7 separate regions of the Homo sapiens genome follow, and regions 2, 3, 4, 5, 6 and 7 are each linked to region 1. Evidence: promoter capture Hi-C in 16 types of primary human blood cells and fetal thymus (Javierre and others, 2016). All regions are on one chromosome and are shown on one strand. The core of a region is centred on a gene start or on the middle of the fragment in contact, and the rest is flanking DNA. Distances in the headings are between cores, read along the strand shown.

What was found. The method cuts DNA at HindIII sites, captures the fragments that hold promoters and counts their contacts. A CHiCAGO score of 5 or more calls a contact.
Region 2: a contact is called between a fragment that was not itself captured here and the fragment with the promoter of MIS18BP1 in region 1, in 17 of 17 cell types (activated CD4 T cells, total CD4 T cells, non-activated CD4 T cells and 14 more). The highest score is 17.6, in activated CD4 T cells.
Region 3: a fragment that was not itself captured here is called in contact with the fragment with the promoter of MIS18BP1 in region 1 in 15 of 17 cell types (monocytes, total CD4 T cells, naive CD8 T cells and 12 more); the score reaches 13.9 in monocytes.
Region 4: a fragment that was not itself captured here is called in contact with the fragment with the promoter of MIS18BP1 in region 1 in 17 of 17 cell types (non-activated CD4 T cells, M2 macrophages, total CD4 T cells and 14 more); the score reaches 17.6 in non-activated CD4 T cells.
Region 5: a fragment that was not itself captured here is called in contact with the fragment with the promoter of MIS18BP1 in region 1 in 11 of 17 cell types (monocytes, total CD8 T cells, non-activated CD4 T cells and 8 more); the score reaches 8.4 in monocytes.
Region 6: a fragment that was not itself captured here is called in contact with the fragment with the promoter of MIS18BP1 in region 1 in 1 of 17 cell types (neutrophils); the score reaches 6.6 in neutrophils.
Region 7: a contact is called between a fragment that was not itself captured here and the fragment with the promoter of MIS18BP1 in region 1, in 2 of 17 cell types (non-activated CD4 T cells and total CD4 T cells). The highest score is 7.6, in non-activated CD4 T cells.

The regions. Positions count from the first base shown.
Region 1 is chr14:45,251,535-45,254,864 of GRCh38, reverse strand. MIS18BP1 (MIS18 binding protein 1) reads left to right here and starts at 1,663. Exons shown (of 17, transcript NM_018353.5): 1 at 1,663-1,830. It overlaps LOC107984674 (a long non-coding RNA gene), which reads right to left and starts at 1,574. Exons shown (of 4, transcript XR_001750746.2): 1 at 1,224-1,574. RefSeq lists enhancers at 1,015-1,074, 1,145-1,334, 496-1,445, 1,355-1,534, 1,635-1,694. The HindIII fragment of the contact is 13,340 bases long and covers 1-3,330 here.
Region 2 is chr14:44,930,279-44,933,690 of GRCh38, reverse strand. It overlaps KLHL28 (kelch like family member 28), which reads left to right. Exons shown (of 5, transcript NM_017658.5): 4 at 2,150-2,358. Among named protein-coding and RNA genes, the nearest start is that of KLHL28, 30 kb to the left of the region's middle. The HindIII fragment of the contact is 1,071 bases long and covers 910-1,980 here.
Region 3 is chr14:44,966,173-44,969,215 of GRCh38, reverse strand. All of the region lies in intron 1 of TOGARAM1 (TOG array regulator of axonemal microtubules 1), which reads right to left. Among named protein-coding and RNA genes, the nearest start is that of TOGARAM1, 5.5 kb to the right of the region's middle. The HindIII fragment of the contact is 5,365 bases long and covers 1-3,043 here.
Region 4 is chr14:44,914,466-44,917,975 of GRCh38, reverse strand. No RefSeq gene overlaps it. Among named protein-coding and RNA genes, the nearest start is that of DORIP1, 19 kb to the right of the region's middle. The HindIII fragment of the contact is 3,362 bases long and covers 100-3,461 here.
Region 5 is chr14:44,948,016-44,951,295 of GRCh38, reverse strand. All of the region lies in intron 1 of KLHL28 (kelch like family member 28), which reads left to right. Among named protein-coding and RNA genes, the nearest start is that of KLHL28, 12 kb to the left of the region's middle. The HindIII fragment of the contact is 2,911 bases long and covers 472-3,280 here.
Region 6 is chr14:44,982,332-44,985,729 of GRCh38, reverse strand. The region is part of intron 1 of TOGARAM1 (TOG array regulator of axonemal microtubules 1); the gene reads right to left. Among named protein-coding and RNA genes, the nearest start is that of TOGARAM1, 22 kb to the right of the region's middle. The HindIII fragment of the contact is 3,843 bases long and covers 67-3,398 here.
Region 7 is chr14:44,864,690-44,868,129 of GRCh38, reverse strand. It overlaps the pseudogene DOCK11P1. Among named protein-coding and RNA genes, the nearest start is that of DORIP1, 31 kb to the left of the region's middle. The HindIII fragment of the contact is 3,001 bases long and covers 294-3,294 here.

The DNA of each region.
Region 1 (3,330 bases), core at 414-2,913:
TGTGTGAGCCACGGCCATCTTCATCAGGCACAGAAACGTCCTATACCTCAATTTCAGGTGCTTTAAAATCTGAATGACCATCCCTTCAAACTTCCTCTATCAAAGTATATTTCATACATGCCATTTAACCTGTTTTAAGGTGGGTTTTTCCCAAAAAAGTAGTGCAAATCCATGTCCAACCATTTTCTCATTATGGTGTACAAGAAAGAAACTTCATTTTATCCAGGTAAGTTTGCTTCCTTTCCCCCTACCTCCAACTGTTTTTCCTTATTTGCATTCACGTGGATGTTTTAAATTTATATTTTGGATTTTGATTATTCAGTGTGTACAAAATTTAGTACATGCAGGATTTAGAAGGGACTGCAAAAGTCACTTTAAAAAAAAATTACCACCTTTTCAGTAAAGCCTCTTAATGGGGAAATGTGGTATGTGACTAGAAGTTGACTAATTTTCTTAGATGGAAGTATAAAATAAAAAGAAGCTCTGTTGTCACAAATGCGGATGGGGGGAAGAGGACAGACTTCATGCAGGACTGGAGTTGGACAGGGTTCAGGGCTGAGAACACACCTTACTACCCTGGCTTCCCCTTCTCTACTTTCAAGACTGAACCAATGTGCCCTATACAAGGCGAAGAATACACCCGGTCACTCCGCGGTGGTTAGAGTGGAGATTCACTGGGTGCAGTCTAAAGCGGGACGCAGTCTGGGGGCCACCGTCACAAGCTGCTTACAGCAACCTAGAGTTGTCGAGATTAATGTTTCTGGAATGTGAAGTGACTTAAAAAAAAATTAATCACTTCCTGGCTCGGTGCGGTTGCCTGTAATCCTGGCACTTTGGGAGGCCGAGATGGAGGATCGCTTGAACCCAGGAGTTCCAGACTAGGCTGGGCAACATGGTGAGACCTCCTCTCTACAAAATAAAAATAAGCCAAGCATGGTCGCGCGCGCCTGTAGTTCCAGCTACTCGGAGGCTGAGGTGGGAAGATCCCTTGGAGTTCCAGACTGCAGTGAGCCGTTATTGCGCCACTGCACTCAGGCCTAGGCGACAGAGCGAAACCCTGTCCCCCACGCCCAAAAAATCGTATTTCCTGAGGGAACAGTTCCAACTAAACATCCCACTTTGTGCGTAACTTTACATTCAATCCATCATCACCTCAAGAACAAAATGTTCTTTCTCCGCCTCAAACATGGAGGACAGAAAAACAGAAGTTCTCTCAAACCCACCAAGCACGCTGTTTTCCTGAGACGGAAAAGAAGGATAACAGCCGCTACGGCGCACAGCCTGTAGGGGAGGACGGCAACCAGGAAAGGCCAAACTTAGCCGCAGTAGTGCCGGGGCGTGCTCGCGGCCCACGGCGTCCCACGTCGTCCCACGTCAGCCTTGTCCCGGCAGAGCTTCACGAGAGGAAAGGCGGGATTCAGGGTGGGCGCGTGCCCTACGAAGACGAAACGAACTTTGAAGACAACTAGAGGAGCTCGCCCCCTGCCTGTGACAGCTTAGGGTCGCCTACTTTTTGTGGACACACTGCCGTCCACGGAGTGCAGAGGCCGCCTGCAGTTTTCTTGCGTCCCTGTGAGACGCACGGTGGCGCAATTCCCGAGCGTGCCAATCCCGGGCTGGCTGGAGGGCGGGCTCTTCAAATTTGAATTGCGGAAGTGTTTTGTGTGTTAGAGAACGTCGCGGAGGAGGTAAGCGTCGCTTGGCGCCTGGCCGCCGCGGGCAGGATACACCGTGGGCCTGAGGCGCGAGCCCGGCGGCGTGCGGCCCTCTCTCCGCGCGGAGCCGAGCCGGAACTGCGGCAGTCTCTCCCTGCCAGGCTCTTCATCCAAGGTACGTCCTCCCCGCGCCCTCCGCTAACCTCCTACCGCGGGTCCCCGCAGATGGTGGGCGTCTGCCCTTTAAGCATCTCGGCTCACGCGGTTTTATTTATTTTTTTTGTAGATTTCTGGCTTTGGTACGGATTTTATACTTCGCACTCGATGTTTACTTGTTGCGTGTCTACTGTACTTAAGAGAGTAGAACACGATTGCTCAAATTTATTTCGATGGTGAGCGTTCTAGGTCTTTGTTCTAAAATAAATTTTTTTTTTTTTTTTTTAGAATACCAAGTGGGAAAATTGTATTCCTCAGTACCCAACTCTTCCCCTTGGGACCCCAGGACCCACAGGGCTATAGAAGCAGTTGATCATTCAGCTTATGTTTTCTTCTGGTTAAATTGCATGCTTGTTGCAAACATCTTTAGATGTTAATAAAATTATTTAGAAAATGGTCGGGCGCGGTGGCACACGCCTGTGATCCCACACTTTGGGAGGCCGAGGCGGGTGGATCTTTTGAGCTCAGGAGTTCAAGAAAATGGTAGGCCACTTCATCCTGGCCTTCAAAGATAAACACTGTTTACAATTTGGTTCACCGCTTCCAGAGTTTTTCTCTATGCCTGTATGTGTTTTATTTATTTACTTAAAAATTTTTTTAAACAAATGCAATTCTATGTTGTTACTTTCTTTTTCAATTTAATGTTTCTTGGATACTTTTCCATATAAGTACATATATATCTTTTTATTGAATACATAGAGTAAATTGTATGGATGTGGCGGGATTTATTTTGTCCTTTATTGGTAGACATCTGGGTTGTTTCATTTCATTTTATGCTGCAGTGAACTTCCCTGTGTAGTGGGTGTGTAGACTGTTGCCTGTTGGTAAATAACTGAAGCTATGGAGTCGGGTAGAATCGGTTCCTCTTTCTCACTTATTGTCAAGTGACCTTGGGCAGCTTACTTAACCACCTTATACCTTAATTTCTCTTTTTTCAAATTGGGAGTAATAACAGTACTTAACTCTTTAGAGTTGCTGTTAGATTATATAGTGGCTGGCATGTAAATATTCAGTAAATATCGGCAATTATGGTACATATATATTTGCATTCTTACGCAGATGTTTCTATAGGAAAAAACAAGTTAGAAGTGGAATTTCCGTGTCAATAGTATGCATACTTGCATTTTGAAATTAATATTTACCAATGTGATATGAAAAAGAAATCTCACTGTTTTAGTTTGCATCTCCATTTATTAGTAAAATCAGGTGTCACAACTCGTTTATTGGCCTTTTGTATTCTATTAATCACCTTTCATGTCCCATGACCATTTTCTGTTTTGTATATTTTTTAAAGTTGATTTATTAGGTCTCTTTGAATGTTATTTAAATTAGCCCTTTGTCATATGTGCTGAGTATTTTTTTCAAGTGTATCATTTGCCTGTTAACTTAAAATTCTATTTTCCCCCTAATTCTATGTCCCAGTTTTGGTTAGTGTGCTCTGGGATTTTTGACCCATTCC
Region 2 (3,412 bases), core at 196-2,695, 320 kb after region 1:
TTCCTTTCTGAATTCTTTCCTGTAATCATACATGTATCATCAGGTATTTGACTTGTGCTGGAGTTTGAATTTGTGATATCTGTATTCTGTAGTTTTATCTGAATAAAGGAGAAATATATATGAGAAAATAAAAGTATGAAGTAACTAGTTATATGAGAAATTAATCGTAATTCTGAACCTTTATTGAAAATTGATGTTCCAAAGGTTTTATCTTTGGCCAGGTGTGGTGGTTCACGCCTGTAATCCTAATACTTTGGGAGGCTGACGTGGGAGGATTGCTTGAGCCCAGGAGGTTGAGGCTGCAGTGAGCCTTGAATGCACTACTACACTCCAGCCTGAGCAACAGAGTGAGACCCTGTCTCAAAAAAAAAAAAAAAGAAAGAAAGAAAAGAAAAGATTGTATCTTTAATAGTAATTAGAGTGGTTTGTGTTATTTTGATTGTGAGTATTTTAATGACAGGGCATACAGTCAGCCCTCCATATCCACGGGTTCTACATCCACAGATCCATCCAACTGTGGATCAAAAATATTTGAAAAAATTTACAATAATAAAAAACAAAATAATACAGTATAACAGCTATTTGCATAGTATTATAAGTAATCTAGAGATGATTTAAAGTATACAAGAGGATACGTGTAGCTTATATGCAAATATTATACTGTTTTATATAAGGAACTTGAGCATCTGCAAATTTTGGTATCCTTGGGATGGGGTGGATCCTGGAACCAATCCTCTACAAATACTGAGGTTTGTTGACTGAGAAAGTGATGGCACAACAGCATTTCATCTGTAAATTTTTACTTCTATTGAAGCCAAAGTATTCCTCCTTTTATTTATTTATATTTTTTGCCCTTAGTTGAAGGAAAAATATGGGACATAGACATGCATTTCTATTCTTTGAAAAGCTTCTGCCCAAAATTTGTAAGATAAAAGGTTAAGTATTTTAAATTTGATTATCTTGAAAGTCTTGCTGCAGTGCATCAACTCTTCTTCAATGATTTTGGTCTAATGGATTCTATCCTGGAGTTCTTTCAGAAACATTACCCAGTCTCTATTATGAACTCCAGAATGGTGTCACAGCCTGTTAAATGCTTATGGTTTTTTCAGGAAATAGGTTAGGGCCAGAACAAGCCCAACAATCTTACCTCTGTGCCTTTGTGCACCTTCAGAGGAAACCATAGTCTTAAACAGCTGCTAGAATTTTCTAGGGAAGCCTTTTTGAAAATTCTGATTTAATTTGGATTCCATAATGCAGCTTAGAAATGCCACACGTTCTCTGAAACACAGTCTTGACTCAAATTCCTGAGTACTCCTAAATCACCCTGAGATAATTATGATCAGCCAGTTTGTACTATGCAATCTACAGTGATTGCTTTGCAGTAAGCCACATGAATTCTCCTGTGACGAAAAAAAATAAAGGTTTTTCTCCCCACCCCCCACCCCTCTCTTCCTCTTCTTTTCCCCTTAACTGTATAGAAGATCCTAAAAACCTCTGTATTCAAGCCAGGCATGGGGGCATGTACCTTTAGTCCTAGCTACTCAGGAGGCTGAGGCAGAAAGATCACTTTAGCCCCGGAATTTGAGGCTGCAGTGAGCTCTGATCTTGTCACTGCACTCCAGCCTAGGTGACAGAGCGAGACCTGCCTCAAAAATAAATAAATAAAATTTAGGAACAAAAAAAAAAAGTCTGTATTCAGTTAGTGGTTTTCAAAGTCACGTGCATACTCATTTGACTTTATTCTTATATGAATCCCTTCAGGTTGCACTATCCTCATTTTTGCAGGTGAGAGGAAATGACTTATTCAGGATTACACAAATCCACAGCAGTAGGGTTAAGGTTCGTTCAGCCCTAGGTATACAGAATTAGTACTTGAACCCAGGTCTTCTGACTCCAAGTTCTATGCTCTTAATATACTTTGCCGCTTGCACAATATAATGGAATAGCATATGGAATTGCACCTTGTTTACAAGGTAAGCTTTTATCTTTGCAATCTTATCAGCAAAACCTAAGCATTTGTGGCAGACTACTCTTGTTTAATATCTCTCTATTATGTGAACTTTTAAAGCTGTAGTGGGTTTTAGTTTTGCTTTGACAGGAAGAATGACACAAAAGATCTGTAAATTAAATTTTTTTTAAATATTTGCAGTGTGGAGCGTTATGATCCAAGTAAGGACTCCTGGGAGATGGTTGCATCCATGGCAGATAAAAGGATTCACTTTGGCGTGGGTGTCATGCTAGGCTTTATTTTTGTGGTGGGTGGACATAATGGAGTCTCACATTTGTCCAGCATTGAAAGATACGATCCTCATCAAAATCAGTGGACTGTGTGTAGACCAATGAAAGAACCTAGAACAGGTAATAAGAATTTATTAATTTCTAAACATGTAAGGCAATGTTTTCTATAATGATGTGCTTGCAATAATAGTTCCTTGGAATATAGCAGTAGGAATATTACTTGTCCAGAAAAAAAAAAAAAAAGACTTGTATGTGGTAAACTTGAAAGACAATTAGCTAGACAAAAGTATATAGATTTCTTTATTGTGACTTTTATATGCCAATGTGCATATTATTGTTTCTCAAACTTGCTGAATACATTTTGGGAAATGCTTATACTAGAGTGTGTATTTATAGAAGCTCCTTTTGTCCATGTAACAAATGTCATCTTTTCATATGTTACATACATACAATCCTCGGATTGTTCTGTTTTGTTTTCTATTGTATATCAGTAATCTGTATGTTCACTTTCAAATGTTCTTTCTTCCCCAGGGGGTATAGTTGATCAAAAAGGGTTGTATTTCAGAGTTCGTAGAAACAAAACAAATCCACTTTTGTGGTTTAGGAAAAATTGTTATCTTTGAACTCAAACTCATCACATCATTTTAAGGGAAAGGTTTTAAGATACTGACAGAAATGCTTTAGGGAGCACTCCTCATACAGATTGAATATTTCCTATCCAAAATGCTTAGGACCAGAAGTGTTTCAGGTTTTGGATTTGGGATTTTGGAATATTTGAATTATGCTTACCAGGTTGATCATGCCAAGTTCAAAAATCTAAAGTGTGAAATGCTTAAGTGAACACTTTCTTTGAGCATCATATGGTGCTCAAAAAGTTTCAGATGTTGGGCCAGGCACGGTGTGGCTCACACCTGTAATCCTAGCACTTTGGGAGGCCGAAGTGGGAGGATCACTTGAGGTCAGGAGTTCAAGACCAGCCTGGGCAACATGTTGAAACCCCATCTCTACTAAAAATGAAAAATTAGCCTGGTGCGGTGGCACATGCCTGTAGTGTCAGCTACTCGGGAGGCTGAGGCATGAGAATCGCTAGAACCGAGATCGCGCCACTGCACTCTAGCCTGGGAGACAGAGCAAGACTCCATCTCAAAAAAAAAAGTTTCAAATGTTGGAGCAC
Region 3 (3,043 bases), core at 253-2,752, 290 kb after region 1:
CGCACTGCACTCCAGCCTGGGCTGTCTCACAAAAAAAAAAAAAGAAAAGAAAGAAAAGAAAGAAAGAAAGGAAGGAAGGAAGGAAGGAAGGAAGGAAGGAAGGAAAGAAAGAAAGAAATGAGGTATCAAACCATGAAAAGACATAAAGGAAACTTAAATGCATATTACTAAGTGAAAGAAACCAATCTGAAAATGCAAGCTACTGTATAACTCCAAGTATGTGACATTCTGGAAATGACAAAACTATGGAGACAGAAAAAAAGACCACTGGTTGCTAAGGCTTGGGAATGGGGTGAGAGAGGGAAGAATGTACATGTAGAGAACAGAGAATTTAGGGCACTGAAACTATTGTTATGATACTATAATGGTGGATACAAGACATGGATACATTTGTCAAAACCCCACAGAATGTACTGAACATAAGACATGGATACATTTGCCAAAATCCCATAGAATGTACAACACAAGAGTGAATCTTAATGTAAACTATGGGCCTTGGGTGATAATTATATGTTAATATGGGTTCACTGATTATAACAAATGTACCCCTAAAGTACCGGATGAGGTGGGTCAGGTTGTTCTTGTGTGGACAGGGGTATATGGGAACTATCTGTACTCTCTGTTGAAAGTTGCTGAGAACCTAAAACTGCTTTAAAAATTAAAGTCCAGGCCGGGCGCGGTGGCTCACGCCTGTAATCCCAGCACTTTGGGAGGCCGAGGCGGGCAGATCACGAGGTCAGGAGATCGAGACCATCCTGGCTAACACGGTGAAACCCCGTCTCTACTAAAAATACTGGGCATGGTGGCGGGTGCCTGTAGTCCCAGCTACTCGGAAGGCTGAGGCAGGAGAACGGCGTGAACCCGGGAGGCGGAGCTTGCAGTGAGCCGAGATCGCGCCACTGCACTCCAGCCTGGGCGACAGAGTGAAACTCCGTCTCAAAATAAATAAATAAAAAATAAAGTCTAATAATTTAAAATATGCATGTATATATACTTTTTTTAAACTGCACACATAAAACTGTTTAGATATTTATTCCCTGTCCTCTATTAAAATAGTTCTTCTAAGACCTTTTTTGAACAAGTAATTACAACTTGATTTCTGGGTTAAGTTTTAATTACACCACAGCATCTTTCAAAAGCAAAATATGTCTATGCTGGCATTTCAGAAATGCACTTATCTTCAGATTCTTTTTGCTTTGGCCGGCACCAGAATCTTTTTAATAATATATACACTGACATCTCAGACTTGACACATGACAAGCAGTCTTAAGAGTAATGCCTTAAAAAAAATCATCACTACCAGATAATGCTTATAATACAAGGAAATAACATATAACCAGATTATATAAATCTGAAAATTATTTCCAAAAAAATCTACAAGTTTTGGGATTGAAAGGAACCATAGAGAACACTCAATTCACCTCCTCCCATCTGAGGTCTACTGCAGAAGGTTCAAACTCATTATTTGCAAGATATTATCTCCATACTTTACCCCATCTACATCTCCAGTATCATCTGCTACTTCCCACTAGGCCCCTTGTGTTTGCTGTGCAAAAATTCCCCATTCTCTTATTAATTTGCTAAGTTCTTTCACATAATCAGTGTCTCTAAACACGCTATTCCTTTAGTCTGAAATTCACTGGGACCTATCCACACTTAGCAAGCTCCTATTCATCTTTCATCATGCTGTTTGAATAATAATTACATAGATAAAAGACTTAATTTAAGAAAAGTTTGACCACAAAATTCTGACTGTGGAATAATTCTAAATACAAAAAGAACTGTAACGAAATCTTAAACTTTACTTAGTAGGTAGTTGGTTGCTGTTGCTGGTCTAGCAATTTTGTGGGGGGAGGGGGGTTACTGTAGGATACAGCATATGAATAAATATTACTGATGTTGGGTAGCAGGGATTTTATTGTGAACGAAGGGAGATTCAAATATGGAATAAAGGAAGATGAGAAAGAACCCTGCAGTACTAGTTTTGAATTGGAGGTATTAATATAAATGCATTAAAAAACAAACAAACAAAAAACAAGTACTCCTTGGTTCTGTCCACTGAAAGGGTCAAACCACAATGGCAAGAAATAGCAATGAGCAAATCTATACTCAGACTTTTGTTTTCAAATACCACTGCCCAATAAAAAGGCAGTACTAGGACTTCTGAAAAAAATGGCTGATTCCAGGTCTGAAGCAAGAAAAAAAAAACCAAAGTAAGGCTAGGCATCATGTTACTCTTGTTTTGTTTTATTTTGTTTTTGAGTCTGGGTCTCACTCTTGAGCAGGCTGGAGTGCAGTGGCACAATCATGGCTCACTGCTGCAGTCTGGAACTCCTGGGCTCAAGCAATCCTCCCACTTCAGCCTCCGAAGTAGCTGGGACTACAGGCCTGCACCACCATGCCTGGCTAAGTTTTTTTATTTTTGTAGAGATGGGGATCTCACTATGTTGCCCAGGCTGGTCTCGAACTCCTGGCCTCAAGCAATCGTCCAAATGTTATGTTAAGGAAATAATCAAAGACTAAAGAACAGTCATGTTAAAAGGACACAGGAGCCAGCCACTAGTTAAATTTGGGACAATTTTATCATGAAAAAGTTAAAAAAAATTTAGTAACAAAAAATAATATGTAATTATTACACATACAAGAAAAAAAGAATTGCAGGTAGTAAACAGAGAAGAAATGTCACAATTTTTTAAAATTACTCTTTTTGTAATTAATTTATTTTAGTATTATTATTATTTTTGAGATGCAGTCTTGCTCTGTTGCCTAGGCTGGGGTACAGTGGTGTGATCTCAGCTCACTGCAACCTCTGCTTCCTGGGTTCAAGTGATTCTTTTGCCTCAGCCTCCCGAGTAGCTGAGATTACAGGTGTGTGCCACCACACCCAGCTAATTTTTGTATTTTTAGTAGAGACGGGGGTTTCACCATGTTGGCCAGGCTGGTCTCCAACTCCTGACCTCAGGTTATCTGCCTGCCTCAGCCTCCCAAAGTGCTGGCATTACAGGTGTGAGCCACCCTGCCTGGCCTTTGTAATTTAAAAATT
Region 4 (3,510 bases), core at 531-3,030, 340 kb after region 1:
CTCCCTACTTGGGCTTGTTAAAAGGTGTCAGCTGGCCTCAGGTTCATTTTGGCTTAAACTATGTCTAACATTAAAATATAGTTAAAGAATTGAAAAGCTTCTTATGCTTTAATGCACATCAAAAGCTGATTTAAATATCTTACTGAGTAAGGCAGGACGTAAATAAGGATGGACCAATCACTTTTGTCTCTGATCAGGAAAGAAGTCTTATAAAGTATATTCTTGTGTGTGCCCTGAGAAGAGTTAAGAATTTAAATAGGCAAGGGTCCTAGAATTTTATATAGAGTAGGTGGTTCCCACTGAATAGAGGAGTATGTCTGGGAAAAGTTTTATAGCCAGATTTTAAAAGACCAATATCATATATGTCTATATATACGTATATGTGTATGTCTATATATAGATATATGTGTATATCTATATATGTCTAAGACATATAGAAATATATATCAAAGTCATATATACACACACTATATGTGTATATATACATATGTACACACACTATATACGTATATACGCACATATATGGTGTATATACGTATATACACACACACAGTGCGTGTGTGCGTGTACACACACACAGTGCGTGTGTGCGTGTACACACACACAGTGCGTGTGTGTGTGTACACAGTGTATATATGTGTGTGTACATAGTGTATATATGTGTGTGTACACAGTGTATATATGTGTGTACACACAGTGTATATGTGTGTACACACACAGTGTATATATGTGAGTGTACACACAGTGTATATATGTACACACACAGTGTATATATGTGAGTGTACACACACATAGTGTATATATGTACACACACAGTGTATATATGTGAGTGTACACACACAGTGTATATATGTATGTGTACACACACATAGTGTATATATGTGTGTATACACACACATATATAGTGTATATATGTGTGTATATACACACACATATATAGTGTATTTATGTGTGTGTATATACACACACATATATAGTGCATATATGTGTGTGTATATACACACACATATATAGTGCGTATATGTGTGTGTATATACACACATATATAGTGCGTATATGTGTGTGTATACACACATATATAGTGCGTATATGTGTGTGTATACACACATATATAGTGCGTATATGTGTGTGTATACACATATATAGTGTGTATATGTGTGTGTATATACACACATATATAGTGTGTATATGTGTGTATACACACATATATAGTGTGTATATGTGTGTATACACACACATATATAGTGTGTATATGTGTGAATACACACATATATAGTGTGTATATGTGTGTGTATACACACATATATAGTGTGTATATGTGTGTGTATACACACATATATAGTGTGTATATGTGTGTGTGTATACACACATATATAGTGTGTATGTGTGTGTGTGTACACACATATATAGTGTGTATGTGTGTGTGTGTACACACATATATAGTGTGTATATGTGTGTGTGTGTACACACATATATAGTGTGTATATGTGTGTGTGTGTACACACATATATAGTGTGTATATGTGTGTGTGTGTACACACATATATAGTGTGTATATGTGTGTGTGTGTACACACATATATAGTGTGTATATGTGTGTGTGTGTACACACATATATAGTGTGTATATGTGTGTGTGTACACACATATATAGTGTGTATGTGTGTGTGTGTGTACACACATATATAGTGTGTATGTGTGTGTGTGTGTACACACATATATAGTGTGTGTGTGTGTGTGTACACACATATATAGTGTGTATATGTGTGTGTATATACACACATATATAGTGTGTATATGTGTGTGTATATACACACATATATAGTGTGTATATGTGTATGTATACATGGTGGTATCTTAGTTCATTTGGACTGCTGTAACAAAATACCATAAACTGAGTAGCTTATAAGCAACAGAAATTATTTCCCACAGTTCTGGAGGCTGGGAAGTCCAAGATAAAGGCAGATTTGGTTTCTGGTAAGAACACTTTTTTTCTGGTTCATAGGCGTAATCTTGCTATGCCTTCACATGGTAGTAGGAGTGTGGCATCTCTCTTGGGTCTTTTTTCTAAGGGCACTAATCCCATCCAGGAGGGCTCCACTGTCATGACCTAATTGCCTTGCCCCACCTCCTAATGCCATCATTTTGGGGATGAGAGTTTCAACATATGAATTGTGGGCAGACATAAACACTGAAGACTATGGTAGGGGGATAAACAATTTTGGATAGTATCTGGTGGTTAAATGGTTAAAGATTTTGAACAGGAACAATATGGGATATTTTACCATTTGATGTCTAGGAAACTTTATTCACTTTCTCTTCAAATTTTTGCTTTGCTTTGTTCTTGCATTTTAAACTAATTCATGTATTTAACTTTTTAAAACTATTTTTACATTGTAATTTGTTCTGTGATCTTCATTTCCACAGAAATACCAGCAATGGTTTTCAGCCAACAAACTTGAAATATTTGCATAGAATTTAATTTTCTGCAACAACACTACACACTAATTTGCTGTAATTTCTTAATAAAATATTGAAAGAGGAATCCATAATGGTAATGTTACTGGGTGGGAAGTTCTTAACTGTGAATTGTCCAGGTTCTTGGCGTGTTGAACAAAGAATTGAACAAAATACACAAAGTAACAAAAGAAAGAAACAACAAAAGACAAAGCAACAAAAGAATAGAGTAATGAAAACACAGATTCATTGTAGTGAAAGTACATTCCACAGACTGGGAATGGGCTTCAAGAGGCAGCTCAAGAGTCCCGCTACTGAAATGCTCCCCAAGGTTTTTATAAAGCCAAAAGAACATGGGCAACACCCCTACATAACATTTGGAGGCCTCCAGTTGGTTACACCCTATGAAGGATTGGCCTACGACCAACCAGAGGCTGAAGTGGAGGCTTGCCCTGCAGTCAATCACAGATTGAAGCGGAAACTTCTGTCTTGTTATCACAGGAGCCAAGATGTAGCCTGTATGCTGCCTAATCTTGCCTAGAACTATCTGCGCCTGCTGTTCTTTTGCTTATGCATTAACCCTTGGTTACCCTAATTCCCTATTCTCCTGCCTCAGCAGCTAGCACTTTCATAGTGCTTACTATGTGTCAGGCAGTAAGTGCTATATATAGTAATTCATTTAATCCTCACTACAACCTTATGAGATATATTCTAGTATTATCTCCACTTTACAGTGAGGAAACAAATAGGTTAAGTCACATGCCCAAAGCTACACAGCCCATGACTGAGCCTGGATTTGAATCCAGGCAATCTAACTTCAAAATCCGGATTTAACTGCCATATTCTTGCCTTTCCTCGACAGCCTGAAAACACAATCAATCAAGAACTAATGATAAAAGAGATAATTCATTGATCATATAGCATGATTCACTTAGTCTGCAAATCCAGTCTTTTTCCTGGGTGAAAAAGGACAATCCTAAATTAGGTCTTCTGGCATTTTATAAGCTTGCTGAGGATAAAATTCCTAAGCCTTCTCAAAAAGAGAGCTGAAGGAAG
Region 5 (3,280 bases), core at 678-3,177, 300 kb after region 1:
GCCTCTAAGGAGCTGCTATGAGGTCATCTCCCAATTTTCCACTCACCTCTCTATTTCCCCTACAAGTGTGTCATGAGACAGTTTCTCTTCACTTCCCTGGTTGTGATTAGGTGTTAGACTTTTGACCCCATCCCACACCCTTAGAATAGAGCTACAGAATAGAAAACTGCTTAGCCATAGTTTTCATGGGGCCAGCCCCTTTTTTGTGTTACCATTTTTGATGTGCGGGACAAGGATCCAGGCAGTTTACTCTTTGGCTAATCTTCTTTTCAATCTGTAAGTAATAAACTATCTAAATCTAATAAGCCATCTATATTTTAAAATGGCTCATATGTCTCTTTACTGATAGAATTAGTGAGGCTTTGGCCTGGCTTTGGTAGGTATTTGTTCCCTGGACAGTAAGCAAACTTCCTTCCTTTTTTGGTATGCATGGAAAGGCATTTCATGGATATAGTTGGCAATAACCAAGCTTTTTAAAGGTTGATGAACAGTAAAAATAAATAACGTCTACCAATTACTGAGTGCTTATGTACCAGCACATAGAAAGGCATATTTACAACTGCTTTTTATACAATTTTGTCTATTTTTTTACAAATGAGAAAACTGAAACTTTTGACTGAATTTCCCAAGGTCACATAATACAGACCATTGTATTGTAACCCGGGAAGCCTGGTACCAAAGCCCAGTCTCTTAAAACTATACTGCATATCATACAAATATATGCATGTGTGTATATTTATGTGTTGTGTGTGTACATACATGTATGTGTGTATTTACAGACCTATGTTGTGTCATTTTTGCGTGTCATATGTTGATGGTGTACCAGTTTTGAATTGGGTACACAAAAATTAGGTTAACAATATAGGATCTATCACTATGTGATTCCTAATTATATTAAAAATGAATCTAGTCAATACTTCATAACCTTGATTTGAGAATCAACAATTCTGTGATACTTGTGTTGCCCAGGGTATCAGAGAAGACAGAGTGGGTTTCTTATCTAATAGTGAGAGGTAGTGCAACATAGAAAGTTGACTACTTCTCAAGGGACAACTCGAAGAATTTACTAGTAATAACTCATATTTATTAAGAGCCTACTAAGTGATAGGCCCTATTCTGAGCCCTTTTTATGTATAAACTCGTTTAATCCTCAAAACAACCCTATATTATAATTATTATTCCTGTTGTTGTTGAGTAACCTTCATTCCTTGGTTTTTCATGTGATAACTCAGACCTCCTTTTTTCCCAGACTCAGTACCTCTGTTCCATTACCTGTAAGACATGATTTGAATTTCTGCTGTTCATCAGGTGTTACAGTCTGTTTAGATCCCTGTCAAAGGATGATACCCAAAATCTGTAGTACAGATATGGACTGACATTTGCAGAGCAAAGCAAAAATTTCTCCTCTGTAGTTCTGTATATTATAGTTCTGTTAATGCAGCTTAAACCCACATAAGTTTATGGTGTTAAAATAGTACTGCAATTAAAATCCCTAAACCTGTTAAACACGTTCTACAGATGCGTCTTTTCTCTCTTATTCTATACTTGGGTAGTTGGTTTGGAATCTGCTATAGAATTTTTACATTTATCCCTTTTAAATTTCTTCTTGTTAGATATAAGTCTTTCAGGATCCTTATTGTGTTAGTCAATGCTTTTGCTGTCCTTTGCAGCTTCATGTCATCTTCAAAGTTCAGGACATAAAATATCTTCATCTTGGCCTTACAGAATACCACTAGAAGCATCCCTCTAGGCCTCATTCCATTAAGTGGTATACTCTGGGGGGTATTTGTTCCACTAGTTGCTGATTTAGCTAACTGAACTAGCTTATATATTTTTTTAGTTTTGTTCTTTGAAAAATCATGAAGGGCATTATAAAATTATTTACTAATATCTAGTTAAATATCAAGTCTACTTTTCTGATCTACAAGTCTTCTAAATAAATTTTTAAAAAGAAACAAACCTAGTCTGTAACATGTCTTATTATTTTTAGCTCATATATCCTAATCCTAAAGATCTCTACATCTTCTTATCGGTATTCACAAGTCAAATCTTTAATAATTTGTTTTAGAATGTTATCTGAAATTAACAGAAATCTTACCATATTGTAGAATTTACTGTCTTATTTTTGAAAATAGTCTTCAGTCCTGTGGCACTGGTAATGATTCAATAATCTCATTTGCAGGCTCTTTTAAATATCTTGAAACATAATTGTTTAGTCTGAGAGAGAGATGAATTTACAAAGTGACTAGGTCTCCTTTTTCAATCCCTTCTCTTATTTTTCGCATACATTTTCCTTTTCTGTTGTTCATCCTTCACTTTTTAGTCTACCATTCTCCTTGTTAAATCAGAAAATGAGAGTTGAAAGGGGTATGTTTTACAGAGCAACACGTATAATTGAATTAATTGCATGTAAAGGGATATAGTAAATAAATGCTTATAGACGTCCAGGTAAAGTTAATTTTTGATCTTGAGTTTTGAGAATTTGAATTGGAGGAAAGGAAGATCAGAGGAGAAAGGTTATAGACAAAATCTAACGTGTGGTAAGAAAATATTTGGGAGATAGCAAGTTTTATATAGAGCTATAGTCATTACATGAGCATCATAAGAGTAAAAGGTCATTGTGGGAAAGAATGGGAATTAGTGAAAGTGGGGATATTGGGAAGTGGCAATTTAGTACAGTGAGACGTAAGTACTATATTCTTAACACCTCAAGCTGTATATTTTGTAGAACTTTATACTTTAGAGAATCACTTTCAGGTAAACTTCTGAGATAAGTGGGGTATTCTTATTTTATGAATGAAACAATTAATACTTAGATTAAGAAAGGCTGGTACCTATTATTCCACCTAATAATATAATTTAAGATTCAGATGGGACTAAAACTCATTACCTTATATTTCCAAAGTCTGTGTTCTTCACTGATATGTTTTATCTCTATCGCCTCACTGCTACCATAGTACTACTGTAGTACAATATCACTTACAGTTTATCATGTTTTTATGTACATTGTCTGATTTGATCCTCAAAAACCTCAGCTACATTAATACCTGAATAATAAAGTACAGGTATTATTATGATCTCATTCTGCAAATAAGGAAAACAAAGATTGAGAAGGTAAAGTTAACGAGGACTGCTTTCTTAACCCCATTACCTATTTTTTCTATCTACTTGCCTTTCCTGTTATTCATTCTTTACTTTTAAGTCTAGATTTTAACTTTTTCATAAAACTGAGGCTAAAAGAAGTTACATAGGTTAAAAAGATCAACACTGGAATAACTAA
Region 6 (3,398 bases), core at 739-3,238, 270 kb after region 1:
TGGTCCTGGCCTGTTAGGAACCCAGCCACACAGCAGGAGGTGAGCGGCGGGCAAGGGAGCAAAGCTTCAAATGTATTTACAGTAGCTCCCCATCACTGGGATTATTGCCTGAGCTCTGCCTCCTGTCAGATCAGCGGTGGTATTAGATTCTCATAGGAGCACAAACCCTATTGTGAACTGCATATGCAAGGAATCTAGGTTGCACACTCCTTCTAAGAATCTAACGTCTGATGATTTGAGGTGGAACAGGTTCATCCTGAAACCATCCCCCACCCCCTAGTCTATGGAAAAATTATCTTCCATGAAACTGGTCCCTGATTCCAAAAGGATTGGGGACTGCTGAGTTAAAGGATACATATATGCTTTGGGATGATGTTAACACACATGCTTATTTTTGCCGCTTAAAAAGGATCTGAAAGCCAGGCACAATGGCTCACGCCTGTTAATCCCAGCACTTTGGGAGGCCGAGACGGGCGGTTCACAAAGTCAGGAGTTCGAGACTAACTTGACCCACATTGTGAAACCTCGTCTCTACTAAAAATACAAAAATTAGCCAGGCGTGGTGGTCCACCCCTGTAATTCCAGCTACTCAGGAGGCTGAGGCAGGAGAATCACTTGAACCTGGGAGGCAGAGGTTGCAGTGAGCCAAGATTGCGCCACTGCACTCCAGCCTGGGTGACAGAGCGAGACTCCATCTCAGAAAAAAAAAAAGATAGTTTTGGTTACATGACTTTTGGTTTTCTCTGTGTCTGACAGGAAACAAAAGTTGGTTTATTTGGGTAAAGTTGTATTTAATACATAAAGCTGACATTTTCCTAGGTACAAAAGTTACAGGGAAATAGAAATATGTATACAAGGTAATCGATATGCTTTGCCCATTATTAAGGGAACTGGTATAGCTCTTTTTTCCATTTTCTTTTTTAATTATTATTTTTAATTATTTTTATTTTTTTTAGAGATGAGGTCTCACTTTGTCACCCAGGCTGGAGTGCAGTGGCACGATCATAGCTCACTGCACACCTGAACTCCTGGGCTCTATCGATCCTTCTACGTCAGCTTCCCAAGCAGCTGGGACTACAGGCACTCACTACCACGCCCAGCTAATTTATTTGCATTTTTTTTTTTTTAGAGACAGGGTCTCGTATATTGCCCAGGCCTCAAGTGATCCTCCAGCCTCAGCCTCACAAATTGCTGGGATTCCAGGCACAAGCCACTGCCTCTAGCTGTTACAGCTTTTTTAAGATGATAACAATAAATATAATATATACATTGTCTTATTTAATATACTTTTAAGGTTAATTATGTTTAAATTTATTTAAAATTTTTGAAATTTTAGATGTTATCTAATTCCATGTTTGTATGTGTCTAAAGATATATTAACAATCACAGAAATGGTGAGTTCACAAAAATGGATATATTTTTAATATTATTATTATTATGTACCATTAAAATATTTTCCATGTCTTTAGTCTGTTTTAAATCATTTTAACCGCTTTATTTCTTCTAAAAGATATGGATATTCTCACTTTCTTACTTTGCTTTAAATACTGTTACTCTTAATAAACATTGTAACATTTATCTGTAGACACATATCTCATAATCATATGTTAAGGTAATAACAAGTTTTGTCCTATAAACTCTTTCTTAAATTCAATTTCCACATGAAAAATAAAATAGCAATTAATATTCTTATTGTTCTCCAAATTTTAATTAGTTTACCCACTATTCATGCAAGGTGACTAAAACAAATGCCTCAAAAAACTTACATACCGGTAGTAGCTTCTACATTTTCTGCTGTAAAATATCCTGTTGCCAACAGTTCATTCTACATAGCTCTGACATAAGCAACATTTACACTAAGAGTAGATATGCTTTTGTGTCGTTTATGATTTTCACAAGCATAAAAAATAAAAGTTTTTAAAACTCTTCATGCATCACAATATAATTTTAAAAAGAAAATTAAATCTTTTCAGAAACAATCCAACATCCAAGGAAAATCTCAAGTTTTAGGATTAACCCATACCAAACACATTAGTACAATTTAATAATTTTAGTTTTTCTAATTTCTTATCAAATTTGTTATATTAACTGTTCTAAATCCCACATTCTTAAAATCTCTAATGTTCTATTTTTCATTTTTAATTGCCCCTTAGTTTAACAGAATCTGGAAGCCTTGTTCTCACAAAGTGGTTCACAGACCACCAGCATCAGCAATACCTAGGAGCTTATTTGACATATAGGCTCAGGCCCCAGTTTAGACAAACTAAATCAGAATCTGTATTTTAACAAGATCCTAAGGCAATTCATTTGCATATTAAAATTTGATAAACACTGCACTAAACTCATATCTTCCTTTCTTTTGACTTAAAACACACACCCTTTCCTGCTACCTCAAAAATTTTTAATATTTTAAGTCATCTTCTCTTTGTTTTTCCTTTAACTTCAGAGAAAAAGACTTCCTCCTCTATCCCAAAGCTAACCTCTCTCTATACTTGTGTTCTTGACCCATTTAATCTTTAGTTAGGAACATATCTCCTTTCCTTTCCCTCTCCAGTATGACTGCAGAGACTGAATCTCCTGCATTTTGCATGTTTAACACCTACCATAATAAAGACACAGAGTCGGCATGTTTAATTCACAGATGGCTCCTTTCTGACTCTTCCAAATCAGGTGTTCCTTACTTAAAAATAAAGCACAGTAATAACTTATCCTGTTATATCCCTGTGCTGTTATCTTGCTTGGTCTTTTCTTTCACTGTCAAACCCTTAAATGTTTTCTTATTTAACAGGTATTTGTTGATATTTGTGGGAAGAGCACTGTAGTTAGTGCTGTTACAAAAACAAAAACTAATTAAACAAAAAAATAAAACAGTCCCTACCATCATACTGTTTACCATCATTGAGAAGAAGGAATAAATGACTCACATGTGCTAAATACTAAATGAGGCAAAAATCCTACGGCAGTGCTATAAAGAGTAGTTTATAAACTCCCACTCAGTTTTGCACAAATTAGATGATTAAAAAGACAGATGCTGAATAACTTCTTACTGCCTGTTTCCTCATCAATTCACCTCATAAACTTTTAAATTTGGTCTCCGCCTGTAACAGTCTACTAAAACTGCCCTTTTATATGTCCCAGTGACCTTCCAATAATCAATTCCTCTACCTTGAAAAAACTACAGACCTCGTGCCCACATACACATGAAGCAAGTATACTCCTTACTTTTTAGTCTAGGTTACTGACTACTATGATTCCTACCACATTGTAGTGAAATCTGTTAGGAAAAATAAAGCTAAATGGTAGCCAGCTAATGATGTCTGATTTACTTGATGCCACTAACCCATTAAAACACTCCTAAATACATAGAAAGAGATGCAAACTTGAAATATCATAGTAAT
Region 7 (3,440 bases), core at 545-3,044, 390 kb after region 1:
AAAAATTGGGATGGGTTCAGAGGGATTTATATGTTAGCAATGCAAAAAGCTCTAATTAAACACTGGACATTCTCATTTCCTAGAAGACCTTTGACAACCTCAGATCTATGAATTTTTTTCTAAAACTTTTTGTTTGGAGATAATTTCCAACTTATAGGAAAGTTGCAAAAATATTACAAAGTGTTCCTGTGCATCTATGGTTTGCCAAGTCCAGCGGGTGCCTGCAATGATTGGTTATAAATTTGTTATTTTTCTAAGCCACATTTCCTTCTTTAGGAACAGGGTTCTAAGCTTAAGTCCAGAGTAATGAGAACATATTTAAGATTAAACATTCTATTTAAAGTAGGTTAACGGAGTAGGAAGGCATCACAGCCCATCTTTCCCTGGATTTGTCTTATCCAGAATGTGCAGTTTTGCTTCTAATAGATTTCTCCACTTTTATCCTTGGAGTGAATTGAATCATCTAAGGAGGAGAGGGTACAGAGGTGAGAGGAGAAATGCTGGGACTATATACCTCCTCTTCTGTTCATTGATGGTAGAGAACTCCTAGCCTGGTGATATATCCCAATTACTCCCTGATTAATGAATCTTCTGGGATTGATGGGTAAAGAACTAACAGTTTTTTGAGAACCTGGCAGTCACTGAATTATAGATTCTATGTTTGAAAATGTAGACAGACTGGAGATCTTTTGTATGAAGTCTCTATTTAAAAAGAACCTCAAGTCCAGAGCTCTATCTGAAAAAAACAGTTGTTCCTCTGCTGTCTTGGGTATTAGAGGAGCTGACATCAGCAAGATGGCAGAATATGAGTTTCTGGCACTCATCCCCTTGAAGAAACATCAATTTGAACAACCACGCATGTACAAAAATACCTTTGTAAGAGCCAAGGAATCCAGATGAGAGATTACAGCACCTGGGTAGAGCACGGATATAAGAAAAGGCATATTTAAGAGGGTAGGAAGGACAGTTTCATGTTGCCAGCATCACTGCTCCCCCAAACCTAAACAGTGCAGTGCAGAAAGAGACCCATCACATGAGGGAAAGAGAGTGTAGTGAGCAGACTTCACTGTGGATCCCAGCACCAGGTCTGGTCCAGTGAACACGGGCACAAGGCCAGCCCCTATGGTCTCAGGCTTCAGGTCAGTCCCTGCAGCCCCAGACCCAAGGCCTGCTCCAGCATCAGGCTGGCATCTGTGGTCCCAAACTCTAGGCCCATTCCTGTGGTTGGAAGGCTCCAGACCTGCCCCAGTACCAGGGAGGCCCATGGGGCAATAGCCTCCAGATCATCCCTAAAGCCATATGCTCCAATGGACTTAGAGTATAGGCTAGCTCCATTAGACACTGGCTCCAGGCCTATCCCCCAAAACCCAGTCTCCAGGCCTGCCCTCATAGTCCCAGGTACCAGGCCTGTTCCTATAGACACAGGTACTAAGCCTACCCCAAGGTATCCTGGGTAAACTGTGACACCCAGCCAGCTCCTGAGGACTCAGGAAGAGGCCCATGTCCACAGACCCAGACATCAGCCCTGCCGCAGTGCCAGGTCAGTCTGTGTGGACCCAGGCTTTGGGCTGGTCTTAGTGATCCCAGACTCCATGCCTGCTCCTTTAGGCCCAAGGGCCAAGCCAGCCCCTACAGACCCAGGCTCCAGGCTTACCACTGCAGACTCAGGCACCAGGCCCATCCACGCAGACTCAGGCCCCAGATCTTTTCCAGTAGACATAGGCAGCAGGCTGGCCCCTGTGAACTCAGACTGCAGGACTGTCTACTTGCTGACCAAGGAACAGGGCCAGCTCACTTTTCACTTATATAAAAATTAAATGATATATTAAAAAAAACAATAGCTACAATAATTTGTTAATAGATACATGACATATAAAAGATGTAAATTGGGCACAGCAGCTGAACTCTGGCAGAGTGTCAGAGGCCGTGTGGGGCTCCTTGGTGCTGGAAAAGTCCAAAGTTGTTGACCCCCTGGACTATGAGAATGTTATCGCCCAAATAAAAACCCAGATTTACAGCAACCCCCTCAGAGATCTGCTTATGTTTCCCAAGGAAGATATATCTGTCTCGGTGATGGGTCGTCAGCACAGAACGGTGCAATCCACTGTACCAGAAGACGAAAAGAGGGCCCAGAGTTTATTTGTCAAAGAGTGTATTAAAACCTGTAGCACAGATTGGCACGTGGTAAACTTTGAGACCAGAAAAAATTCCTAATCACGTATTTGAGATAGATGAAGACTGTGAGAAAGATAAGGACTTACCTGCTTTATGTTATCAGAAGGGTGGTGTGATAAAACAAGGCTGGTTGCATAAGGCAAATGTAAATAGCACCATCACAGTAACCACGAAGGTATTCAAGAGACGATATTTTTACTTGACCCAACTTCCTGAGGTTAATATATTCTCAATTCCTATAAAGATGAGAAAAATTCAAAAGAATCGAAAGGTTGCATCTACTTGGATGCCTGCATTGATGTTCAGATGATGAAACTAGTAGCCAACGAAAAGCCGATAACATCATGGCAAGTTTGGAAAGGAGCATGCATCCGGAAATGATGAAGTATGGAAGAGAAACTGAACAACTAAACAAACTCAGTAGCGGAGATGGAAGACAGAATCTCTTTTCTTTTGATTCAGAAGTTCAGAGGTTGGACTTTTCAGGAATTGAACCTGATATAAAGCCATTTGAAGAAAAGTGCAACAAACGTTTCCTGGTAAATTGCCATGATTTAACTTTCAATATCTTGGGCCAAATTGGAGACAATGCAAAAGGACCACCCACAAATGTTGAGCCCCCCACCCTTTTTTAAAATCAGTCTTGCCTTATTTGATGTAAAGAACAATTGTGAGATTTCAGCAGACTTTCATGTAGACTTGAATCCCCCATCTGTCCATGAAATGCTGTGGGGCTCTTCAATCCAACTGTGCAGTGACAGTAACCCAAAGGGCTCTTCACCTGAGTCTTTCATTCATGGAATTTCTGAATCTCAGTTATGCTACATAAAACAGGGAATTTTCTCAGTGATGAATCCACATCCTGAAATTTTTCTAGCTGCGAGAATCGAAAAGGTGCTACAGGGAAACATTACATACCATGCAGAACCCTACATCAAAAATTCTGATTCAGTAAAGACGGCCCAGAAGGTGCCCAGGACAGCTAAACAAGTGTGTAGCCATTTTGGACAATACAGAATGCCTTTTGTTAGGGCTGCCAGATCCATTTTCAAAGATACTCAAGGCTTTCTCTATCTGGATGGGAGATTTTCTTCTCTGTATAAACAAGAGTAGCAAGCTTTCAAATGAAGACGTTCTCAAGTTGCTATCAGAATATAAGAAGCCAGAAAAGACCAAACTGCAGATTATTCCTGGGCAGTTAAACATCACAATAGAATGTGTTCCTGTGGATTTATCAAATTGTATTACTTCTTCATATGTGCCTC